Regions from separate parts of the Homo sapiens genome. Here regions 1 and 3 are each linked to region 2. Evidence: promoter capture Hi-C in human tissues and cell types (Jung and others, 2019). All regions are on one chromosome and are shown on one strand. The core of a region is centred on a gene start or on the middle of the fragment in contact, and the rest is flanking DNA. Distances in the headings are between cores, read along the strand shown. Region 1 has its middle 110 kb from the start of PRELID2. Region 2 holds the start of GRXCR2 (glutaredoxin and cysteine rich domain containing 2). Region 3 has its middle 210 kb from the start of PRELID2.

Region 1 (3,571 bases), core at 145-2,644, 140 kb before region 2:
CAGCATCATCCTCAATTTCCTGGAATGAATTGTTGATCATGGCAATTAACACATTTAGCAAAACAATGACCACTGTAACATTATAGACTCCATAACGAACATAACCAATATTTTCAATGAATTTGTGGTTATAGTTGATGACCACTGATTTCACTTCAGCAAGTCCAAATATAGCCCAGAACAGTGTCTTAAAACTCTCTTCAACTGTTGTGAAGGCTTCATTTTGTTTTGCACCAATGTAGTAGGAGTAGAAGTTGTACGTTCCAATCATAAAGGCCACAAACACCATAATGAATATGACCATGAACCTGAAGATGTCTTTGACTGCTCCTCCAAGTGACATCTGCAGAGGTCCAAAGCTTTCATTTGCTGGCAAAATACAAGCTATCCCAGAGAAACTCAAAACCACAGCAACTGCACAAAGACCTTTAGACACAATCTGAGGATCAGAGGGGTCCCACTCCCTCCTGGCCAAAGTAACATTGGGAGATAATGTGAAATACTACATAATAAATGCCTTAAGAAATTCAAGTAAGCAGAATGTTTGCTTTCACTTGGTCCCATTGTTACCCTGGTTTCCGAGTACTCAGCTTTCCCACTGAGCTTCTTTGACTTTTGTCAAGTCCTTCAAAGTATCATTTGTATCAGTGATGCTCTGGGTTTCGGAAGCATGCCAGAATGCCCTGAATCTTACAATGAATGATGCTGCAAAAATTGCTAACATACCAAAATCAAGCATATTCCACAACTCAAACAAATATTCCTTGGGGCCTTGAGTCCAAATTTCTTTACATTTAGCCCATATCATGCCTCTGTTCTCATTAAATCTGTTTTTCTCTAGCAGAGGCAGGTTACCCATGAAACTGAAGCTTCAAGATGACTTTACTTGCCCAGGTTCCTTCTAAGTCCTCACTTTGTCTTCTTTTTCTCTAAGTGGGGCCCTCTGAATAAACAAGCCTCAGATTCCTCTGGGTCTTACACCCCATGCCTCACCCTCTACATAATAAATGCCTTAAGAAATTCAAGTAAGCAGAATGTTTGCTTTCACTTTGTCCCATTGTTACCCTGGTTCTTCCGAGTACTCAGCTTTCCCACTGAGCTTCTTTCAGTCATCCTTGGGTGTCCGTTGACGATGCGTCCTCTGCTTTTACATGCTCTAGCATTCCTTCACCGGGGTCTTTCTTGCCCCATGTTGGGCAGCCAGGAATGTTGGGGTGATCAGACCCAACACCAGGTCGTGGGGGCAATGAAGTCCGGTGGAGTCAAAAGAATGAGAAAAGACAGTTTGAGAGATAAAGTGGGTCCAGAGGGCCAATGTGAGTATGGAGGCTGTGAAGGCCCTGAGCTCTGCAAGCCCAGACTATTTATTGGTGATCAAAGAAACAGGTGGTGAGAATGTGGGGTTGAAAGGGAGCATTGCATTAAGCACAAGATTTACAGTTGTGATGGTTTAGCCTTTATATGGCCAATTCTAAGACACAATCAATCTAGGAGCCTGAGAGGGCTAGAAGCAAGGAGCCAGCAAGTCTAGACACATTCCAGAGCCACAAGGGGATTTATGCCCTGGGTTTAGATTATGGTGCGTCAGGGTAGCCTTCCACCCTTTAGCACAGAGCTTAGTGTTCCAAAGGCCATGAGGAGTTTTAGACCCTGGACCCTGGACATGTTCCAAGACTCTTTTACATTATGTCAGACATGCAAGCCCTGCCTCAGCTTCTCCCAACACTCAGCTTTTCTCCCAACACACTGGCCAAAGTAATTCTCATAGCCATGCCCAATTTCAAAGAAGAGAAGAGAAGTGTAATTCTACCCCATGCCCGTAATGTAGAAAGCAGGTAATATTTAACAAGCAGCACTAATAACTAGCACACTCTCAAAATGCCAAACTAAGGTGATTTTGACTATTCATGCATGGCATGAAGATCCATGAACAGGAGTCATTTGTAATTTTGCTGAGGCATAAATTTGAATCACCCATGCTAATGAGGATGAGGTTGGTTGGAAGAAGTACAAAAGCAAGTTTGTTACCTGTGAGTGAGCCTAGATAACTACTCAGCATCCACATCACATCATATCACATCGCAACTTTGTTCTGACAGAGCAGGAGCATCGCCATCTTGGACAAGCCCCTCATTCTAAAGTTCACCTTAATAAAAAAAAAACTGCCTAAATCCAAAGGGCATCAGTCTAATGACTAAGGTCGGCATGACCATAAACCACAAATAACATCTCTAACCAGAAACATTCCAAACTCCTCCCCAGCCAGAGACAGGCTAGCCCTAAGATAAACCCCCTCCAGCTGGGAAGATGCCAGTCTCGAGATGACATCCCTCTGGCCGGAAAGATGCCTGCCCCAAGGCAAACTCCCCTCCACCCAGAGACATTCCAACCCCACCATAAAACTTCTCCCTCAAACAGTAACATTCGAAGCTTCTGATAAGCCCCCTCACCCTAAAACTAATACATACTCTTAATCTGTAAGAGAAAGCACTCCTGATAGAAATTGGCCAGGAGTGTCTCTCAGGTTTTAACTAAAGAAAACCTGTCTTTAACTGCCAGCTGCATTTCGTGTTTCTTTCCTCTTTAACTCTTACATGTTCTACATTGTTGCATGTGTACTAATGTTTAAAGCATATATTTGCATTTCACAGGGGAAATTATCTGCTGGGATTCCCAGAGTTCTTGGAACATACTCAGTTTTGAACATAAGGATCCTTTCATTGATCCATTGATCACAGCTATGGACCAAGGCAAATGTTAATATCGGCTTCTATTCTCAGCCATAATCCTGCTCCATTCCTAAAATGCAGAGTGACTAAGATGCATACTGACAGGGAATCCAGTGAGTCCAATTTGTCAGAGAGGTATTCACCCATCAAAGTGGTCTGAACACTGTGGAACTCTTCATTCCAAATTGTTAGAGAGTACGACATGGGAAAAAGCACTGGATTTGGAGCCAAACACTTACTATCTGAATAATCTGGGGCATGACATTAAATCATTCTTAGCCTTACTGTTTTCGTTAGTAAAATGAGGCTAATTACAACATGGCAGGTCATTTCTCCCTTCCTCACTATACTTTGTTCCTTCTACCCCTCACTACTTTTGAAATTATGCTATGAGAAGTTGTCAAATTTAGCAAAGAAAAGAGTTTTTGTCTCCATTACGATGAATCAGAAATACCTGCGCCTCTTTCTATAAAAGAAGGCACAGGCCATAAAGGTCTACCTTTCCCTCTCAGCAGGGACCAGAATAGAGGACTTCATGTCCCTGATTCCAGGGGGAAATCTGAACCCTCAGGAGTAGAAGGGAGATAAGGAGATTAAAGACAGCAGAAGCCTCTGAATTATCTCCTAGAGTACACTTTTGTAGACCGAAGGATAGTTCAATGAGGAAAGTAAAAAGCTGCTATATATCACCTTCTGTGTTTTCCTCCTGGTAATGAGCTATACCTGCATACCAGTCTGGACATTCTGTGACAATGGTTACAATAATTACAATAATAACACTATCACTAAAGGTAGCTATAAATAAATAGGTGCTCGAAATCTGAAGTGTTATATTTAAATTT
Region 2 (3,423 bases), core at 125-2,624:
TTCGGTAATTGTGAACATGCCCATAATTATACTTTTACCAATGCCAGTAAAGCCAGTAATACATTTGTCTGCAATAGATGTGTTATCTATTCCCTTAGGAAACTAACAATAAAAATAATTCAAGAGTAATTATCTGGCTTTCACACTTTAAAGATGAGAACACATCCTGGTGTGCTATTCATTAATAACGTGGATACATTATATAATTGTATTTTATCTTTTTTAAGAAGTCATTCATGGTCCCACTGACAGCATATATACATCTCCTATGAATTTTTGGATACCAGTGTATGTTTTCCAGGTTCTACCTTAAAAGAAAATCATGTATGGACTTTTGATTATCCATGGTACTGGGAAGTAATTGAAATTCATAGATTAAACACATTCTTCAATCGAACCATTAGCTCAAACTTCTTCCTCACATAACATATCCTCTGGCTGATTTGCGTTTCACCATCCCTTCCCAGGACTCCAACTACCCAGAGCTTATGCTAAGGAGCAATGGAAAGGAAAAATAAATAGACAAAGCAGGCAGTATGAGGAAGGCAATAGGGGTAAAAAACAAGACATGGATAAACTGCAAGCTGAGTAATTGGCTGGAGTAAAATGAGCACTTTCAAATACTCAGCTCTTTCAGGAAACAAAATGACTGCATAATTGTCTAAAACCGCAGTCTGACAACCTGAAAACCACTGCACCTCTATTTAATTTACATTCCAGGAAAACTCAGTCAAAGATCCAATTACAATGTATTACCTTGGATGGAATTTGAATACTATATATGCTCATTGCACTTTCCAATTAGTAGTCAACAAGCATGTTATTTTTACCCCAGAAATATTCGTCTAATAACAACTTCCCATTTGGTGCACCAACAGTTCTGGTTGGTACCGGAGGGGGAGCAAGACACAAATCTGAACCATTTAGGAGTTTCTCTAAACACGTTTTAGGAAGCCCTACCCTTAAAGCCTATATGCCATGCACAATACCAACCTTATGGTCATTCGCCTTGTAATCGTTGAACCGAGGCTGGCCGCCTGCCAAGGTGTAGGCATTACCCTCTCTAAACACACTGATCCTCTGAGCAGTCAGCTTAGGGGAGCACATCTGGGGCCTGGGGACTTCCCCAGACCCATAAACACCATCCATTGTTTCAAGAGACTCTTGCAGAAAACTGTGAGGGTATTCCTCCTTTGGTGACTCTAATTCCTGCCCATCCTCAAAGACCTGCTTCAATACTCGACCGCTGTAGGAGGAGGAGATTTTAAATCGTACTTTCCGGGGTTTGCCATCACTCTTCTGATTCAGCTTTTTCTCAGGGTCCTCCATCAGCAGAAAGTTGACCCTGTGGTCTCCAGCCTTCCGTGCAGCCGGTGAAACTTGGGCCTCTGAGAAAAAGGCATTTTATTTTCTCTCCTCCTGCATATAATTAATTCAAGTTGTTGCTGGGGTATGGTCAGTTTACAGCAACTGACACCCATACATTAAATATTGATAGACCCTCATGAAAAGGCAGGTGATTCTGGTTTGATGGAGTGGATGGAATATAAGACAAGATTGATTCTTCTCATAATCCCAAGCTCACCATGACTTCACCCCAACCCTAACCTTTCTTAACCTGAGGATGAAGAAGTTTATTTAGACTGAACATGTGCCAATTCAATAAGGATCAGACACTCAATTAGTTAACAAGTGTCTTCTTATTGTTAGCAATGACAATTAAAATCTAGTGAGCATTTCATAAGTACCAGAGATTGTTACATGCATTATTTTATTTCATCCTCACGATAACCCTACAAAGAAAATCTTACCTTTGTTTTACACAGGGGAAAGTGAGGCTTAGAGCCACTTGTCATTTATCTTCATCATTTGTCTGCTCTATTACACCTAAGTAAGTGACAGAGCAGGGATTTGAACCCAGATCTATCTGACTCCAAAACCCAAGATCAGCCCACACAACCAGAAGTTTTCCAGTTCTGGTTCTAGAAGAGGGAATGACGTCCTAGATACAGTGGAGGTTCTTGGAGGCTGCTGCTAAGAACAGGAGAAGGCCGAGGGTCCTGGATTCTGGGCCTTCTCCCCCTACGCTAACCAGAGCACCTCCACTTGGTATGTATTTTACATTTAAGATTTCATTTGCAATCACAGCACAAGTCCCCATTGCCTGTTGGACTTCGTAAATGCCTGACACTGAACTAGTGGCTGGAGTGAATAGCACAGAAGCATGTGACCTGGGCCTGAGAACAGTCCTACAATCCCATACAGACCTCACACAGGTGAAATAATAACCTCATGCTTAGAGAGCAAACTGCCCACAGCTGAATCCCAGAATAGCCACTCTGGGAAGGAAGTGGTCTCTAAGGAGACAAGGATGGAAGAAGGTTTGTAAAGAAAAGGGCCCTTGGGCTGGGTAGAAAATGGTAGGTTGGATGTGAGGAGCTGAAAGTGGAGTAAAGCCTTTCTCCCTGTCTTTGCTACCAGCATCACCATTTACTGAGTTACCCAAATTGACCCCTCCTATTCCCCTACAGCCATTCGCTTGGATTCTTTTTTTTTATTATTTTATTTTATTTTTTTTTTTTTGAGACGGAGTCTCACTCTGTTGCCAGGCTGGAGTGCAGTGGTACGATCTCGGCTCACTGCAACCTCCACCTCCTGAGTTCGAGCAATTCTCATGCCTCAGCCTCCCGAGTAGCTGGGACTACAGGCACACGCCACCATGCCCAGCTAATTTTTGTATTTTTAGTAGAGATGGAGTTTCACCATGTTGGCCAGGATGGTCTCAATCTCTTGACCTCGTGATCCGCCTGCCTTGACCTCCCAAAGTGCTGGGACTACAGGCATGAGCCACCGCACCCAGCCCATTCACATGGATTCTTTCACCACTGCCTTCTTTCATCTACCCCTATCACCCTGGCCCTAGGGCAAACCCTCATCACTTTGATTTTTAAAGTTGCAGCTGTCTCCCAAGGACTTCCCTACTCACCCCCAATTCCATTCTCCATATTGATGTGAGAGCAATAGTCCAAAACAACAAATCCACAGGTGTCAGTCTCTTGCTGAAAAATCTTTTCTAGTGCATCAGGGCTTAAGTCTTAACTGTTCCATGTGACAAGCAAAGCCCCTCAAAAACCAGCCTCACCTTCCTTCCTTTCCAGCCTTGCCCTCTGTCACTCTTCCAGGGGCTGCCTGGGATTGGTGTTCCAGTTACACCAACAAGCTTACCCATTTCTCAAACCCACAAGTTTCTGTCTCTTATCCAGTACTCTGTCTCCTGATTTAGAGTGTCAAATTTCCATTCCTCCTTCAAGTCACACCTCAAATGTCACTGCTTCTGGGCAGCCTTCCCACCTTCCCCAGGGAGAGTGCCATGGGACTTTCGGACCTACCGCCATTCAGATGCTTCTCACTTTCCCTTGCCCT
Region 3 (3,418 bases), core at 518-3,017, 250 kb before region 2:
AACTTCTGGCCAGGAGGTTTCTCCACTGGTTCAAAGTTCAAAAGTTCAAAGTTCAAAAGCTACAAGACTCAGCTGGAGGCTTCCTTCTCCCTGTGGCATATTCCTCCTGCCTGTGGCCACGCTCCCAAAGGACCTGTGATGTTAGGCAGGAATGGCCTGTGTGGGGACGCAGGAAGCTCCCAGGGCCTTTTCCACTGCTTCCTCTACCCCTGTATTTCACTCGGCTGTCTAAATTGACTCAGCTCCAGCTAAGGTCAGAATCTTCTCCTGCAAACTAGACCTTCAGTTTCCCTAGCAGGAGTGTGTGCCTGGGGGCAGAGGATCTCCCTTTCCCACTTCCACAGTTTGGGCACTCACAGTATTTGGGGTGTCTCCCAGGTCCTGTAGGAGCAGTCTGCTTCCTTCAGAGAGTCTGAGGGTCCTCTCGGTTTCCTGATTTATTCCTGCGGTCATTCTGGAGCTAAAATTCATGATGTGAGCCTCCCCCTGCTGCTCTGTCCATCTGAGTTGGAGCTGCAATCTAGCCCTGCCTCGCATCCACCATGATGCCTCCTCAACATCCGACAATTCAATTTTAAAAAATAGGTAAAATACCTGTACAGGCAACTTGAAAATGGGATAGGAAAATGGTCATAAAGCATATGAAAACCCATTATCAATCAAGACAATCAGTAAATATATGAAAATCAAATAATAATAGAGAAATTCCAGCTGAAACCACAATGAGGTTACAACATACCCACCAGATGGGCTAAATTTAAACAGTCTGAAAATTTCAAGTATTGATGGAATGAGAAGCAATGGAAATCATCAAAGACTATTGTAAATTATTTTAGGCTCTTCAGAAAATAGTTTATCATTCTCTGGTAAAACTGAAAGTACACATATTTTGTGGCAGTGATTCTGCTCCTAGCCATGTGCATATGTAAACCTGAACACATTCATATTATCCATAGCAGCATTATTTGTAGTCGCCCTAAATTACCACAGTCCAAAAAGAGAGGAAACATGTTGAATGCTGAACAACATAAATTAAAGAAAAATCTACATTTAAAAATATCATAGTGAAACACCAAAGCATAACTCCAGTAAAACACCAAAAGCAAAGAGATCTACAAGCAGCCAGAGAATGGTAAATACATATCAGTATACATTTGTCCGAGCCTACAGAATGTGCAACACTAAGAGTTAACCCTAATGTAAACTTTGGACTTTGGCTGATAATGATGATCCATGTAGATTCACCAACTGTTAGAAAGGTAGCACTTTTGTGGGGGATATTGAAAATGGGGGATGCTACGCATGTGAGGGAGCACTAGGTATAGGGGAAATCTTTGTACCCTCCTCTCAATTTTACTTTAAATATAAAACTTCTCTAAAAAATAAATTTTTTTTAAAAAGTCCAGGTGTAGTGAGTGGCTCATGCCTGTAATGCCAACAATTTGGGAGGCCAATGAAGGCAGATTACTTGAGCCCAGGAGTTTGAGAACAACCTCGGTAACATGGCAAAATGCAGTGTTAGTGCACACCTGTAGTCCCAGCTACGTGGGTGGCTAAGGTGGGAGAATCACCTGATCCCAGAAGTCGAGGCTACAGTGAGCCATGGCACAGCTTTGGGTGTCGGAGTAAGACCCTGTTACACACACACACACACACACAAAATTAAAGATAGCCAGGGAAAAATAAATAACTTACAAAAGAATAACATTAGGCTGACATCTGACTTCTCAAATGCCACAATGAAAGCCAGAAGACATCTGAATAACATCATCAAAGTAGTGAGAAAATAATTGTCAGCCTAAAGAAGAGTTGCATACCAGAAAAACTAACTGCCAAAAATAAAAATAATATATTTGATAGGAAATTGTATCCAGAATATGTAAATAACTCTTACTACTCAGTAAAAAGACTGTTAAGACAATTTAAAAATTTGGCAAAGTATCTGAATAGACATTTCTCCAAAGTAGATATACAAATGGCTAAGAAGCACATGAAAAATTGTTTAACATCATTAAGTCATTAAGCAAGGTGAATCAAACCCATCACACTGACTAGGACGGCTATCATAAAATTATAATAATAATAACAACAACAGCAAATCCTAGCAAAGATATTGAGAAATTAGAGCACTCATACATTGCTGGTAGGAATGTAAAATGTGCAGCTACAACTTGGCAAAAAAGAGTTACCATGTGCCCTAGCAATTCTAGCTGTATACAAAGAGATTTGACATTCTATATCTACACAAAAACTTGTACACACCACTGTTTTTAGCAACATTAGTGATAAAAGCCAAAAAAGTAGACACAACCCCAAATCCCATCAACTGCTGAATAGATAAATTAAATGTGGCATACTCATACAATGAAATATTATTCTACAATAAAAAGGAATGAACTGCTGATACACATGTTCTCACTGATATATGGGAGGCAAAAATGAATAAATTAATTAAATGAGATCCTGGAAGAAGACAGTAGAATTGTAGCTATTAGGGGCATCAAAGGGTAGGGGGAATGGAGGATAAAGAGGTTAGTTAATGGATAGAGAATTATAGCTAGATTGGAGGAATAACTTCTAGTATTCTATGGCACTGTTGGATAAATATGGTTAGCAGGAATTTACTGCATATTTTCAATAAGCTAGAAGAGAGAATTTCGGATGTTCATAACACAAAGAAATGATGAATGAGATGAATACACTCATAACTCTATTTGGTCATCACACATTGCATGCATGTATTAAAATATCACTTTGTATTTCATAAATATGTACAGTTATTACATGTCAACTAAAAGTAAAACAAAAAGAAAAAAAACTACTGATACATGCTACAACATGGATAAACCTGGAAAACATTACACTAAGTGAAAGAAGCCAATCCAATAAAACCACCTATTATATGATTCCATTTATGTTAACTGTCCAGAATAAACAAAGCTTTAGAGACAGAAAACAGATTTGCCATTGTCTAGGGCTGGGAGTTGAGGAAATCTGGGGAATAACTGCTAATAAGAACAAAATTTTTTTTCAGGTGGTAAATAAAATGATCTAAACTTTAAGGTGGTAATAGTTGCACAACTATGTGAACATATTAAAGACTGTTTAATTGCATACTTTAAATAGGTAAATTGTATGATATGTGACTTATATCCCTATAAAGCTGTTGTTCAAAAAGAATAGTAGTGAAATAAAGTCATTTTAAGATGAAAACTAACAGACTTTAGCAGTAACTACTTATGCTAAAGGAAATCCTAAATTATATTCTCCAGGAACAAATCTGAGATACAATGATTAGTGAGCAAAGAAACTGTTGGAAATATAGATGAACCAAAACAATTATATGCCTGTGAGATAATAATAATATTTATTGTGTATTCGTTAATAAAAGAATTAACCTACTGGGCAAAAATAGCAT

The links. Contacts are between HindIII fragments. The study calls those that stand out against the background at their distance.
Region 1: a fragment that was not itself captured here is called in contact with the fragment with the promoter of GRXCR2 in region 2 in 3 of the 25 tissues and cell types used here (bladder, liver and mesenchymal stem cells).
Region 3: a contact is called between a fragment that was not itself captured here and the fragment with the promoter of GRXCR2 in region 2, in 2 of the 25 tissues and cell types used here (lymphoblastoid cells and thymus).

What each region holds. Positions count from the first base shown.
Region 1 is chr5:145,728,539-145,732,109 of GRCh38, forward strand. It overlaps a transcript of PRELID2 not described here and the pseudogene TRPC6P2. Among named protein-coding and RNA genes, the nearest start is that of PRELID2, 110 kb to the right of the region's middle. The HindIII fragment of the contact is 4,568 bases long and covers 1-3,571 here.
Region 2 is chr5:145,871,640-145,875,062 of GRCh38, forward strand. GRXCR2 (glutaredoxin and cysteine rich domain containing 2) reads right to left here and starts at 1,375. Exons shown (of 3, transcript NM_001080516.2): 1 at 994-1,375. The coding sequence starts at 1,329. The HindIII fragment of the contact is 8,071 bases long and covers 1-3,400 here.
Region 3 is chr5:145,619,185-145,622,602 of GRCh38, forward strand. It overlaps a transcript of PRELID2 not described here. Among named protein-coding and RNA genes, the nearest start is that of PRELID2, 210 kb to the right of the region's middle. The HindIII fragment of the contact is 4,857 bases long and covers 1-3,418 here.